Regions from separate parts of the Homo sapiens genome. Here all the other regions are linked to region 5. Evidence: promoter capture Hi-C in human tissues and cell types (Jung and others, 2019). All regions are on one chromosome and are shown on one strand. The core of a region is centred on a gene start or on the middle of the fragment in contact, and the rest is flanking DNA. Distances in the headings are between cores, read along the strand shown. Region 1 overlaps KDM1A (lysine demethylase 1A). Region 2 has its middle 23 kb from the start of LINC01355. Region 3 holds the start of KDM1A (lysine demethylase 1A). Region 4 has its middle 17 kb from the start of LUZP1. Region 5 holds the start of E2F2 (E2F transcription factor 2).

Region 1 (2,952 bases), core at 407-2,906, 490 kb after region 5:
CCATCTCTATCTTCTAAACAGCATCTAAGAAAACTAGCTATTCTCAATACTCTGATATCATTTTTAAAAATGAAAAATGGTCTCTAAAAACTCTCAATAATTATTTCCTTCCCTTTGGTGTTTAGGGATACTTATTTTAAGGAATGAAGACCATTATCAAAACCAGGGTGAAAAGCCTGCAAGATAAAAAGCTAACCTTTTCTTAAAGAAAAAAAAAATGTATGTTAATTTGTAACCTAAACTGTTGAGAAGCTAAATCAAAACATCCTTCTTATAGGATAGTACCAAAATGAAGTAATAGACACCATTTTGGATAATCTAACTCATGAGTACCTATCTCTTTCAGAGGAAAAATCTTTTAGAATACAAATGATTTTAATAACATCCTAAAAGTACCAACAGTACACATTAATTCAGAAGTAATTTACACTTGGCTCTGATAGTTTTGTACTCTGGTGTTTGCGTTTTCCATTAAGTAATGGAATCTGGTATTCTGAAAATTTAGAATGTTTCCAAAACGTTGTCTTTGAAACATTCAAAAATTATTAAAAAGCTCCAAGTTGCCTAAATACCAGTCTTACTTTCTGTTCAGTTCCTTCCTGCTCACCACCTTTATACAGGAAATTCCAGCATCACCTTTCAGAATGCAGTCACTCTAAAGCAGAACTGCCCTTTCTAATGGTCTGACTGGCTTATACTTTCTCTGAATACATAATAAATGTAGTTAAATATTTGAAGGAATAATTTAGACCTTTTGAAGTAGGTTAATTAGAAGTAGAAAAAGCGGGAGAGGCAGGTGAGATGACAGGTCCTCTATTCCATTAAATCACTTCCTCTTGATTCGTGTAAGATATAGGTAGCATCTTGACTGCAGTAAGGTAATAGAGATATAAAAATTAACAAAGAAAAGAAGGCCTCCATGAGAGTTACTTGCCTTTAATTTTTTATATCAAGTAGATAACTATAACTAGATTTCTAGCGTGAAAATAAAAGCCTGAGGTGATCTACATATTAAAGACTTTACTTAATATGAGAAAACTAGAGATGTATCATATCAAGTCCTAGAATGTTTTAAAATAAAAGGAATAAGGAATAGGGGGAGGAGAGAGAAAACGAAAAGAGAATTGTACAACCTCCTATACTTCAGAGTTTTTAATTTCTAGGGTAAACACTATTTTAAAGGATTCTAAGGGTGTAAGGAATAGTCTTTGCACTAAGAAGCAAGATCCCTGGGTTCTCCTTCTCCAGAACTGCTGGTGTATTGCTGGTCAATCTATTTAACTTCTTTGGGTTTCAGATCCTAATCCATAAAATAAGGGAGATAAAATACTGTTTGAAGGCAGGAAGTTAGACAAGATGACCTCAAGTTCTCTTCTAGCTCTAAGATTTAGGATGTGTACACCAACTTGAGGTGGGTTTTAAGAAGTCAAGATATGATCCTGGCACCAAGATACCCATGAGGGTCATCTGGCTTCATTAAGAGAAGAATGTTGATCTCTTACAAGCACATTTCTAACCCTGATTGATCATTTCACAAATGCATGCTTCTGAACGTGACAAAGATTGGAAGAGAGATCTTGAAGGTTTTACAACAGTCACCATCATTCCTGGAAACACTTAAAATTCATGTTCTACTAACAGTAATCAGCAGCACACTTTTATATGAAAGTCTGCTTTCACTTTCAGCAATATATGATATTGTTTACTTAATGCAAAAGAGCAAATAGTCACACACAAAAAAAAAACAGAAACAAAAAACAAGAAAACTCAACTTCTTTCTTCAAGATTAGAACTCTAAAGGCCATCCCTGATCTTCAACAGTTCCATGGAAGATCTAATTGTGCGTCATTTGATGAAAAGCATTCTTCAAGGTTTATATGCCACAGATCTAGACTCTGAACAGGGTTTAATTCTGCTAAGATAACCATGTACTGATTATCAACCTGCAATCCTTGGGACAGCATTTTTAAAAGTCTGCTCCTAACATTCTGGATCCCCTTATTACTAATTGCTGTATTAACAATGAACTACCTTTAGTTCAAGAGAGTGAAATAGAAACAGTCCCAGGACCTGTTATATGCAAACTGCAAAACAAATAATTTTAAAGTAGACTTAAGACAGTTGAAAAGTGACAACCTCCAAAAGTGAAGTAGTGCCTATTCCAATTCTATCAAAACGTATCTATAAACCAGCTTTGAGCAACTGGAACAAAAACATCCTTCAAGAGACAAAGGATGAAATCCAGATACGTTATTTTGGATTGCTGGGATAAATTTTAACTGTTCCAGATGGTGGCCCCTATAAATTCTTTACTTTTTCCTAGAAGTAAAAATCTCATACTGTTTGGTCTGAACAGAAAAAAGTATTTCAGACTTTTCAAAAGACATTTTTCACATGAGAAACAAAATGTTTAAACTGAAGAATGATTAACTACGTAATGTTAACTGAAAAAAGGTACCCAATACCCTGTAACAACCATTTTTAAAAAGATGTCACTTGCCCACATAGTTCCTCTGACTAGTCCTAGAATGCCTCTCAGTCCCGTTTGTTTTTGCTTTTAGACTTTTGAGCCTGTGACTTTTCCTCTCTGTGTATACTGCTGTATTTCTCTTTAAGGGTCCCATGATTCCTAAGTCTATGTTCTATATCATGTTTACTATTAATAGAAAGGCTGCTGGGGAGAAAAGTACCCGCCATCTCCTCGAAAACACAAAGAGTGGAGGGCTGAGATCGGCCTGAGGACTTCAAAAGGTTTTGCTTGCCTTTGTTCTCACTACACTCTCTCCTACTATACTATTATGTCCTGTGGGTTAAATTTCACCTGCGCTTCTGGCTAAAATGTGGATACCACAGCCAAAAACACTTGCAAGCATCAATTCCTACTTGGCGGCTCTTGCTACTAAGTGGCAAGCATCTAATGCCACCCTCACCTGATGCTTGGCCGTCTCCATA
Region 2 (2,864 bases), core at 5-2,504, 270 kb after region 5:
AGCCCTTTATATGGCAGCATAAACTGAAACAGCTCCCCTTTCCTCCTCCAAGATGAGGGGAGAAGCTTGGGCTGAGCTGGGCACCTTTTAATGTTTCCTAATTTGAGGAAGCTTTGTAATACAATTCAGGGCAAGACGGGGGAAAGGCACCTTTTGCATAATAAGACCAGAGCTATCTAACAGCAAATAGGATACAAATCAGGGTAACAGAAGAATACTAACTTGTCACTCAGAAAGGCATGCTCTCCAGGAGACCAATTCTCATGGGAGAGGAGTGTTTGCTTTCAGATGTTTACCAGACTAGAGGTTCAGCCTGGAAGCACCCAGAGATCCCTTCCTCACCCATGGAACCAGGGCTCGCCTTTGCATTGGACAGGGCTGGCCTAAAGAGAGACAACAATGAGAAGAGAGAAGAGAGTCAGGGAGCATGGGAGCAACTGCAGGACACCCTCTCTGTCACCCAGGATACATTTGTAATGCAAAGAGCTGAACAATCCATCCCAACTCCCTCTACTGTCTTCCCAAGACCAAGAGAGATAATGGATCTGAGAGTCTCATAAAATGCAATTTGGGTGCAATCAATGACCACCCAAGAAGAGTTTGGCAACCTCTTTCTTCAGGTTTCCTCCCTGGAGCACAAGCTTTCTCAGCCAAGGCACTATTGACCTTTTAGGCCTGTCAATTCTTTGTGGAAAACCACGGCTCCAGCAGAGGCACAGGTGGATTTATTGAGTTGCTAATGAAGTCGTGGCCTCAAAACCCTTCATTTACACTATTAGCTCCTTCCAAAGAGCTGAGGGAGGTCCTAATGAATGATGTGTTCACAGAGTGAACGTTTTTTGTAAAATTTGTTAAAAACATTTTTTAACTGCAATTGGTTAAGATCACTCAGTCACACATTATCTCCTTTTACTCCAGCACTTTCTTATAAAAATTTGTATTTTTGTGGCTTTTTTTTTTTTAGAGAGGGGGTCTTGCTCTGTCACCCCAAGGCTGGAGTGCAGTGGCTCAACCATGGCTCATTGCAACCTCCAATTCCTGGGCTCAAGGGATCCTTCCACCTAAGCTTCCCAAGTAGCTGGGACTGCAGACGGGAGCCACTACTATGTCTGATAATTTTTTTTTTTTTTTTTTTTGAGACGGAGTCTCGCTCTGTCACCAGGCTGGAGTGCAATGGTGCGATCTCGGCTCACTGCAACCTCTGCCTCCTGAGTTCAAGCGATTCTCCTTGGTTGCTGAGTTCAAGCGAGTAGCTGGGACTACAGGCGCACGCCACCACACCCAGCTAATTTTTGTATTTTTAGTAGAGACGGGGTTTCGCCGTGTTGGCCAGGATAGTCTCGCTTTCTTGACCACGTGATCTGCCTGCCTTGGCCTCCCAAAGTAGAGTCGGGGCTCACTGTGTTGCCCGGACTGGTCTTGAATTCCTAGCCTCAAGTGAACCTGCCAAAGTGCTGAGATTACAGGCATGAGTCACCACACACAGCCAAAATTTGTATTTGTAATTTTTAATCATTTTTCTTTTTTTTTTTTTTTAATTCATACAGAGTCTCGCTCTGTCGCCCAGGCTGGAGTGCAGTGGCGCGATCTCAGCTCACTGCAAGCTCCGCCTACCGGGTTCACCGCACTCTCCTGCCTCAGCCTCCCGAGTAGCTGGGACTACAGGCGCCCGCCACCACGCTCGGCTAATTTGTTGTATTTTTAGTAGAAACGGGGTTTTACCATGTTAGCCAGGATGGTCTCGATCTCCTGACCTCATGATCCACCCGCCTCGGCCTCCCAAAGTGCTGGGATTACAGGCGTGAGCCACCGCGCCCGGCCTTTTTTATCATTTTCTTAAAGATGGTCCCCCCCAGTAGCCTAAGCTTCAGGCCCCACAAAACCCAGATCTGACCCTAGAGTAAGACAATCCTTGCTTCTACCCCATCCTCACATACTCAAAGTTTTTAAACCTCTTTAGGCATCAGTTTCATTTGAAAAATTGGTTTATTAATGGTGATTTCCTAAGATTCTTGTGAAAACTAAGTGATAAAATGGAAACTGCTTAGCCTACTGCCTAGAACAACCACACACTCAATACATGGTAGCTGTTATGAAAATAGTGATATATTCATTTCCTGATAGTGGAAATCAAATGTGGTGACCGCTTCAGTTGGGAGAAGGACTACCAGCTTCCTGATGGCGGGAAACCACGATGACACTGAGGAGCTAAAACATTTGGCTAGAACCATCACCAAGGAAAAAGTCTGGTTTTGAAAATGATGCCAGGCACGGTGGCTCACATCTGTAATCCCAGCGCTTTGGGAGGCCAAGGCAAGCATATTGCTTCAGCCCAGGAGTTCAAGACCTGCCTGGGCAACATGGCAAAACCCTGTCTCTAGCATTGCAACATAGTGAGACCTCATCTCTACAAAAAATACAAAAATTAGCTGAGTGTGGTGGCATGTGCCTGTAGTCCCAGCTACTTGGGAGTCTGAGGTGGGAAGATTGCTTGAGCCCAGGAGGTCAAGGCTGCAGTGAGCAGTGATCATGCCACTGCACTCTAGCCTGGATGACAGAGCAAGACCCTGTCTCAAGAAAAAAAAAAAGAAAAAGCAAATGATGATGGAATATTCAAGCTTACAGTCTAGGCTCCACCATAGAGGAAAAATGAAGAACAGAGAACCCAGAACTACCTTCATGGGTTTCTTTCTAGAAGAATCTCTTTTAATGGATTCTTTCTGTGTTCTATGGGCAGCTGACCCCTCTGCAGACCCATTTATTTATTTATTTACTTATTTATTTATTTTAATTTTTGAGATAGGGTTTCACTCTGTCACCCAGGCCAGAGTGCAATGGTATGATCTCAGCTCACTGCAACCTCT
Region 3 (2,700 bases), core at 101-2,600, 510 kb after region 5:
CACTTCCATCACTTATTTAGCTTTGTGACTTTAGGCAAGTTGCTTAAATTGTGTGCCTCAGTTTACTCATTCCTAAAATAGGGCTAGCAATACCTGCCCGTTGATATTTAACAACAACAAAAAAAAGTAATGTTGGTGACACGCTGAATATAGCATCTAGGACACAGACATTTGAGGCAGTCACTGTCTGTATATACTGTTTGGAGTCAAATCTTTTCTTCCCATATATTTGCATTTTGACTATTATTTGCTCTCTCAATCAGCAGCTTCCTCATCTGCAAAATTCTGCGCCAAAAGATCGCTGAGAGGATTTTAAAAAAGAAAAAAAAAAAGACTAGAACTCCTACCACACAGCAGGGTTTTGCTCAAACAAAAACAAAAGCAAAAACGACCCTTTCTTTTCATCTCCCCGGCTAAGGCGATTTCTTCAGCATCAACCTACAGCCCCCTCGTGCACCCAGCTGAAACGCCATCAATATCGCCCAACAGCTTCCAGACCTATCTGTGAACAAACAAGTGAGGTCTCCAAGAACGCCAACCGTAACCCCACGTCAGGGAGCCATTTTCCAGTCAAGAAAATGAAAAGGTGTGCAAGAAAGACCTAAGGAATAAAATACCCCTCCCAGCAATCATCGATGCCCCTTCCCACGTCGCTCGGGACCCAGCACAAAGACCGCAGTCAACACCGGCAAAGACTTTTCCTTTCTCACCCCACCCGTCCAGCTAGAGGGGACGTGGCGTGCGCAGCGATACAAGGGGAGGTCTGAGTGGTCGCAGGGCCCAAGACCCGGCGGCGGCGGGGGAGGGCGGAGAAGCCTCGGGGAAGCTCGGCACCAGGCGGTGTCGTTTGAGGGAAGGGTCGAGCCTTACCTTCGCCCGCTTGCGCCGGCTGGTCCGACGCCCCTCCGGAGTCTCTGCTATTCCAGTTTCCATGGGGGTCGCAGACCCAGGCACGACAGTAGGGCCGGCCTGAGGCCCTGCGGACCCCGGCGGTTCCGCCAGGCCCCCGGGGGGCGAGGCCCGCGGAGGCTCTTTCTTGCGGGGTGTGCGCTCCCCCACCGCCCCCGGCCCGACCTCGGCTGGGCCCGACAGGCCCGCGGGCTGCGCGGCCACCTCAGACCCGTTCTCGGAGCCGCCTGCTGTCCCAGGGCCAGCCTCCGTCCCGGTTGCTGCCGCTGCAGCCGCCGCCGCCGCGGCTGCCGCCTTCTTCCCAGATAACATCTCGGGCCGCCGGGCCGCCGACGGCCGTAGGGGCCGCTCGCTCTGTCGCTCCGTGGGTCCGAAAAGCCTTGCCTCGCCTCGCTTCACGCTGCCCGCGCGCCGCCAACCGCCGTCGCGTACGCACGCGCCAAGCGCGCTCCCGCCGCGCCGGGACAAAAAGGGTCGGAGACACCCACGAGCCCCGCCCCTCCCCCGCAGCCATAGAGCGGCGTTCTCGCGGCTAGAGTGGCACCGCAGCAAAGAACGTGTAGCTTGCCTAGAGCGTCTCCCCGGCGTTTGGAGTGGGACCTGGCACAGTCCGTGGTCTTAGGGCTTCTGGGCCAGACTAAACCTCCGAAGGTGACCATTTCCTCCAGGGACTTTCGGGTTTGCATGCGTGCGTTCGTTCATTCACTCACCCAATTATTCGTTAATTCAACCAGTATTTATTAATGCTTGCCTACTACGTAACAAGGGTTACATTATGAAGTTCTAGCTTTCAAAGAACTTACAGTCTAATGGGGGAAAACACTGAAATATGTTGGTAGAGCGTCTTACTTATTCATAATTGCCCTGCTTGGACTGGGCAAAAAACTTGGAGAGCACAGCAGTTTCGATGGTAGTAAAATGGAGACAAGTTACGAAATCCAGGTTTGAGTCCAGACGGAATTGCTCTTGTCTCCAAGCCTTTGTTCATGCTTTTCCTTCTGGCTGGACCCCAACCTCATTCGCACTCCATGTCTTGCGCTTCTCCCATCCCCCATGTCCCCCATCCCCCATGTCCCCCATCCTTCATGTCCCCCATCCCCATCCACATAACACCTCTTTCTACTCCAGGTTAATTCTTTCTAATAATGATAGTAGCGGTTTATTCTTTTAATTTTTCGAGGAATCCCTTGCTAACCCAAAACTGGAACAGGTCGTGTACTTTTAGCATGCGTGTACTTATTACACAAACAATTGTCTTTTTAATAGTCTGTCTCTTCGAAGTGAAATTGTCAAAAAATTATTCCATTTACATGAAGTTCAAGAACTGGTAAAACTAATCTCCAGTAATAGGCTCCAATCAGCCCTTGCCTGAGATGGGGGTCGGGGGTTGACTGCAAAAGAACAAGAAAGAACTTGCTGGGGGTGATGGAAATGTTTTATATCTTGATTAGGGTGATGGTTACATAGGTGTATATATTTGTCAAAACTCTATGAACTATCCATGTAAAACAGGTATGTTTTATGTAACTGTAGTACTTCAGTAAAGTTGTTTTTTGTAAAAAACTAAGCAAACAGACAAAAAGGCAATCAAATGTAGAAAGGAAAAAAAGTAAAAGCTATGCAAGAAAGAAAATGTATCCGAGTGGCGTGGCACGCACTTGTAGTACCAGCTGCTCGAGAGACTGAGGTGGGAGAATCACTTGAGCCTAGGAGTTCATTCAAGTCCAGCCTGAGCAACATAGTGAAACTGCGTTTCTAAAAAAAAAGAGAAAAGAAAAAGAAAGAAAATAT
Region 4 (2,700 bases), core at 135-2,634, 350 kb after region 5:
ATCTCTACAAAAAAACACAAAAACTAGACAGGTTTGGTGGCATGCACCTGTAGTCCCAGCTACTCAGGAGGCTGAGGTGGGAGAATCCCTTGAACCTGAGAGGTTGAAGCTGTAGTGAGCCATGTTCATGCCACTGCACTGTAGCCTGGGTGACAGAGCAATACCCTATCTCAAAAAATAAAACAAAAATAAATAAATAGCAAAGTCAGAATTACATCTAGCAGTATGACCTGAGAGCCAGCATGGCTAGCCATCAGCCTCTACCACCTCCTTGGCAACACTTGTACCAGTTGTTTGAGAGGGTGCTCATCACCTTTCTCTATTTTTTTTTTAAGACAGAGTTTCGCTCTATCGCGAGGCTGCAGTGCCGTGGCACGATCCCGGCTCACTGCAAACTCCGCCTCCTGGGTTCAAGCGATTATTCTGCCTCAGCCTCCTGAATAGCTGGGACCACAGGCATGCGCCACCACACCCAGATAATTTTTTTTTTTTTGTATTTTTAGTAGAGACGGGGTTTCACCATGTTGGCCAGGATGGTCTTGATCTCTTGACCTCGTGATCCGACCGCCTCGGCCTCCCAAAGTGCTGGGATTACAGGCATGAGCCACCGCTCCCTACCCTTTCTGTATTTTTTTAACCATAGCTACACTAACCCAAAACTAGTCAGGTGCCAGGCCTTGCACTTGGCACTTTATTTATTTTTATTATTTATTTTTGAGACAGAGTTCCACTCTTGTTGCCAGGGTGGAGGGCAATGGCGCAATCTCAACTCACTGCAACCTCCACCTCCCGGGTTCAAGCGATTCTCCTGCCTCAGCCTCCTGAGTAACTGGGATTACAGGCACCTGCCGCCATGCCCAGCTAATTTTTGTATTTTTAGTAGGGATGGGCGTTTCACCATACTGGCCAGGCTGGTCTCAAACTCCTGACCTCGTGATCCGCCCACCTCAGCCTCCCAAAGTGCTGGGATTACAGGCATGAGCCACTGTGCCTGGCCCACTCGGCACTTTAAACATGCTTTCTATGATTCCCTCATAACATAAAAAAAAAAAGTCAAATTGAAGATAAACTTAGAACTTGGCCAGGCGTGGTGGCTCATGCCTGTAATCCCAGCACTTTGGGAGGCCTGCATGTTCCTGCATGTTCCATATTATGCCCATTTTATATGTGAGAAAACTGAGGTTCAAAGTCATGAGGGAACTTGCCAAGCTTAAAAGCACATTAGGGACAGACTGAGATCAAATGCATATTTGTTCTTTATTGAGCTCTGACTGAAAGCTTCCCTTGGTTTTGGGGAAAGAAAAATCTGTCTCCCAGAAGTGGCAGCCCCTGGTTCCTAGTTCTCAAAGCCCACGTGCTCTCTTCAGATGTTTGAAGTGGACACATTGCACCCCTTCAGTATTTTATATACCACAGTCAGAGAGTGGCTCCTTCAACTCTTCCCCATAAAATGTGATTTTGAGGTCCCCCCAGCCATCATCTTGTTCATCATCCTATGGATAAGTTATACTTTTTCCATGTTCCAGTCAAAGTTCTGATCCCAAAATGGAACACAGTTCTCTAGACACGGACAGAAGGACTATCATCTCCCTCACTGTACACACAGTGCTTCTATTAATATAGCCCCAAACCCAATAAAGTATCTCCTATGTACAAAGCACTGCCCATGCACTTGGGATAGAGATTGAACAAGCCAGCAACTTCCCTGCCCTCCGGGAGCTTACATTTTGCTCACTGAGCTAAGGGAGGAGGCAGAGTCACTTTAGACATGAATCCTAGAATGTCAGAGCTGGTAGCGCCCAGTCCCCTCCTGCCTCTTTCTTTTTTTGAGAGGGAGTCTCGCTCTGCCACCCAGGGTGAAGTGCAGTGGTGTGATCTCAGCTCACCAAACCTCCACCTCCCAGATTCAAGTGATTCTCCTGCCTCAGCCTGCCGGGTAGCTGGGACTACAGGTGGCTGCCACCACGCCCGGCTAATTTTTGTATTTTTAGTAGAGATGGGGTTTCACCATGTTGGCCAGGCTGGTCTCAAACTCCTGACCTCAGGTGATCCACTTGCCTCAGCCTCCCAAAGTGCTGGGATTACAGGTGTGAGCCACCGCACTCGGCCTCCTGCCTTTTTTATTAACAGATGAGGAAACTGATCCCAGAAGGGGCAGTGACAGACCCAAGATTCTTCAGTGGGACAAAATTCACTTCTGCCTTTCTCATAACCTCAGGCACTGGTGAGACCTGGGGCCTTATAGAGAAATGTGGACTGGGATGAAAAGTTTGCTGTTGAGAATTTTGTTGTTAAGTGGACCCACCCTACACCTCCTTAAAGCTTTCTTCAGAAATCCTAATTTATTTTAGATATGGCCACCAGGTGGCGCAGAGGCACCAGGAAAAAGTGCAGAAATCAAAGGTGGGTGGGCTCCTTCCTCTTCCGATCAATTTTCCTTTGCAAGGGGGAATGGTGAGCGGGGAATAGCAAAGCCAGCCTGGCGCGGTGGCTTGTACCTGTAATTGCAGCACCTTTGGAGGCCGAGGCAGGTGGATCTCTTGAGCTCAGGAGTTTGAGACCAGCCTGGGCAACACGGTGAAACTCCGTCTCTACAAAAAACACAAAAACTAGCTGGGTGTGGTGGTGCATGCCTGTAGTCCCAGCTATTCAGGAGGCTGAGGTGGGAGAATGCCTTAAGCCTGGGAGGTCAAGGCTAGG
Region 5 (2,870 bases), core at 95-2,594:
AGAAAATCAAGGATCAAGGATCAGAGAATTTACAAAATTTGCCTTGGTCACACAATGAATAATAAAGTGTCTGGGCCTGGGTTTGAATTCGGGGCTGTTGGCTACAAAGCCTGGGCTCTTAATCATCATGGGTTATTGCCACCTTGGCCTCAACCATCTAATGAGGAATTAAGCTGTGGACTGTCTCTGGAGGGCTTTGAATGCCAAGGCTCAGACTTGCATAAAAATCACACAGCACCAGGCAAGAAATCAGACCTGAAATCTAGCAGCAGCTTCTAGCAACTTTTTACCACTCACTACCCAAGTTTGCTTCTCTGAGCCTCTCTAAACCGGAGTGATGAGGAATGTATTATCAGCAATGAAGGTTTTTGAATGAGGCAGAGAGGCTCTTGTGACAAAAGGATTGTTTAAAAGAAACCTAGAGATGTTCAAACATTTACTGAGTATTGGGTCCTAATAATACAACTGTGAACAAGACAAAGCTCTGCAGTGGGACTCTGACCCTGCTGTGCCCCCAGGCAGCTTGGGAGAGTAGAAGAACCCCTTAACTGGAAAAACAAGGGCTCCAGAGCTGGGACCTGTCCCAGATTCTGTTGCCAGCTCTCAAATCAGGGAATCTCTCTGTATGACCTTGGGCAAGTTACCCAGCCTTTCAGACTGTCAGTCTTTATCATGGGGATCATCATTCCTCTTCCCAGGATTGTTGGAATAAATTAACTAAAACAACGCTTGTAAGGATCTAGCATGGTGCCTGGCATCCTGTAGGCGCTGAATAGATGTTAGTTTTCCCTACAAAGAAGTAGACTAGTTTGCCTCCGTCCCTCACCCCTCTGCCATTAAAGGGAACAGGTTCCTGGCCTTCATTTTAGCAGGAAAGGGGATATGAATGCACATGTGCTAGCTAAGCAACAATGCAAACTAACAAAAGGGCCTGTGGCCTGGGGAATACACTGCTGGGTCTGGGCTCAGGCTGGGACCCCGCGCCAAAATGTTTCCCTTCAATCCCAGGGAATCCGGGCCCATTTCTCGGGGCGCTGTGCACTGCTCTGGCCGCCTCTGCACTGTGAATCCCGGAACCACCCTCTGTCTCCGTCTCGCCGGCTGCTAACTAGCGCGGCCGGCGGCTGGCGGCACCAACAGCAGGTGTGGCTGCCCCTTTAAGCAGCGAAGCTAGTGTTGCAATCGCCGCCTCGAGGACGCGTTCTTTCCGGGGGGGGGGGGGGGGGTGGAGCCTGTACTGTCGCAGCAGCCAACCGGAGCGCGGCATTTTCCGCGGGAGATCCGAATTTCGCGGCACGACGTTTGGCGCTAAAAAAAAAAAAAAAAGAAGAAAAAAAAGAGGCAGAGAAAGACTCAAGGACTAGAGAGCGAGCCGCAAGGAAGTCGGTGCAGTCGAGACCCCCCTCCCCATCCCAGCGCATCGCGTCTCCGCCGAGCTTGAGGGCACGCCGGGGACCCCTCCCCAGAGCCGGCCGGACCCCAGGTGCCGAGGCCTTGGGGAGCGCGGGGCGTCCCGGGTCGCGGTGCCCTCGGGACGAGACAGCCCCTGGCAGTGCCACCACCGCAGCCGCCGGGCGATCTCCAAGCGGCGATCTCTAAGCGCTGCTCTCTGCTCGGCCGCGGGCCAGGAGGGGAGGGTCCGGCCTTGCCCCGCAGGCGTCCATTGGCGGCTTCCCCCGGCCTCCGCGCCATGCCGCGGGCCGTGTGAAAGGCGGCAGCACCGGAACCCGCAGGTGTCCGCGGGCGCGCCAAGCCCTTTTGGGTAGGGGGCGCCTTACTCGCTATGCTGCAAGGGCCCCGGGCCTTGGCTTCGGCCGCTGGGCAGACCCCGAAGGTGGTGCCCGCGATGAGCCCCACAGAGCTGTGGCCATCCGGCCTCAGCAGCCCCCAGCTCTGCCCAGCTACTGCTACCTACTACACACCGCTGTACCCGCAGACGGCGCCTCCCGCAGCGGCGCCAGGCACCTGCCTCGACGCCACTCCCCACGGACCCGAGGGCCAAGTTGTGCGATGCCTGCCGGCAGGCCGGCTGCCGGTAATGCTGGGGGCCCCCACCGCTTCCCCCTATGCTTTTCCAGGTGTGGGAAAGGAGGGAGGGGTGCCTGAGATCCAGTTTGAGTGGAGCAGGTAGAGTTTTGGGAAGAGGGAAGATGAGCTTTCAGTTTCCAGGACCCAGTGCCCCCAATATCTGAGTAGAAGACCCCTTCATTTTCAGACTTTGGATGAAATAATCTCATCCATTCTAGTGGAGTGGAATGAGCACTGGATTGCGAGTCTGGAGGGAGACCCAACTCACTACTCCCAGTGCACTGTGTGACCTTGGGGAAGTCCATGCAGCCAGCGTTGCCGCCATTCATTCATTACTTCATTGTTTGGCCAGAAACCAGTACTGGGTGCCTGCTATTGTCCAGGCAAAGAGTATGGCCTGGGGACACTGTGGGACTTTGGTAAGACAGAGGGATAGGTCTAGTGGGTCTCTCACATCCAATCTGCCATGGACAGACTCCAAATTGTCCAGCCAGCTCCTGAGATAGCCCCAAGTATCTGCCCTAGGTCCTCCCCCAGGCCCAGTCTTCCCTCCCAGACAGCCATGTAGCAGATACAAATGTGGGCAGCCCCCTTGGGTTCTGTTCAGATTGGCTGCTCTCTCCTCAAGCTCCCAGGCTCGTTGCCAGAGAGGGCCCAAAGTGTAGTGGCACCAGGCTGCCTGCTGACCTGGGCTCAGGGTGTGTTTTGTGGGAGTGGAATTCCTGGAGCCCGTGTGAATCAAAACAACTTTAGGGTGGGGGGTGGAGTGGGAAAAGCCTGGGGGAGTGGAGGTGGTGGTGGTTGAGGAGCCTGGTTTCTGGTGTGACTCTGCCACTAATTCT

The links. The method cuts DNA at HindIII sites, captures the fragments that hold promoters and counts their contacts. A contact is called where the count stands out against the background at its distance.
Region 1: a fragment that was not itself captured here is called in contact with the fragment with the promoter of E2F2 in region 5 in 1 of the 25 tissues and cell types used here (mesenchymal stem cells).
Region 2: a fragment that was not itself captured here is called in contact with the fragment with the promoter of E2F2 in region 5 in 3 of the 25 tissues and cell types used here (H1 embryonic stem cells, bladder and dorsolateral prefrontal cortex).
Region 3: a contact is called between the fragment with the promoter of KDM1A here and the fragment with the promoter of E2F2 in region 5, in 3 of the 25 tissues and cell types used here (adrenal gland, heart right ventricle and mesenchymal stem cells).
Region 4: a fragment that was not itself captured here is called in contact with the fragment with the promoter of E2F2 in region 5 in 1 of the 25 tissues and cell types used here (IMR-90 fibroblasts).

What each region holds. Positions count from the first base shown.
Region 1 is chr1:23,044,465-23,047,416 of GRCh38, reverse strand. KDM1A (lysine demethylase 1A) reads right to left here. Exons shown (of 21, transcript NM_001009999.3): 3 at 2,931-2,952. Among named protein-coding and RNA genes, the nearest start is that of MIR3115, 1.6 kb to the right of the region's middle. The HindIII fragment of the contact is 7,190 bases long and covers 1-2,952 here.
Region 2 is chr1:23,261,282-23,264,145 of GRCh38, reverse strand. No RefSeq gene overlaps it. Among named protein-coding and RNA genes, the nearest start is that of LINC01355, 23 kb to the left of the region's middle. RefSeq lists an enhancer at 35-869. The HindIII fragment of the contact is 3,246 bases long and covers 1-2,864 here.
Region 3 is chr1:23,018,118-23,020,817 of GRCh38, reverse strand. KDM1A (lysine demethylase 1A) reads right to left here and starts at 1,350. Exons shown (of 21, transcript NM_001009999.3): 1 at 871-1,350. The coding sequence starts at 1,221. RefSeq lists enhancers at 173-858, 859-1,546 and a silencer at 1,034-1,103. The HindIII fragment of the contact is 14,593 bases long and covers 1-2,700 here.
Region 4 is chr1:23,184,524-23,187,223 of GRCh38, reverse strand. No RefSeq gene overlaps it. Among named protein-coding and RNA genes, the nearest start is that of LUZP1, 17 kb to the right of the region's middle. The HindIII fragment of the contact is 4,187 bases long and covers 1-2,700 here.
Region 5 is chr1:23,529,707-23,532,576 of GRCh38, reverse strand. E2F2 (E2F transcription factor 2) reads left to right here and starts at 1,344. Exons shown (of 7, transcript NM_004091.4): 1 at 1,344-2,035. The coding sequence starts at 1,784. RefSeq lists silencers at 1,113-1,252, 1,790-1,938. The HindIII fragment of the contact is 9,154 bases long and covers 1-2,870 here.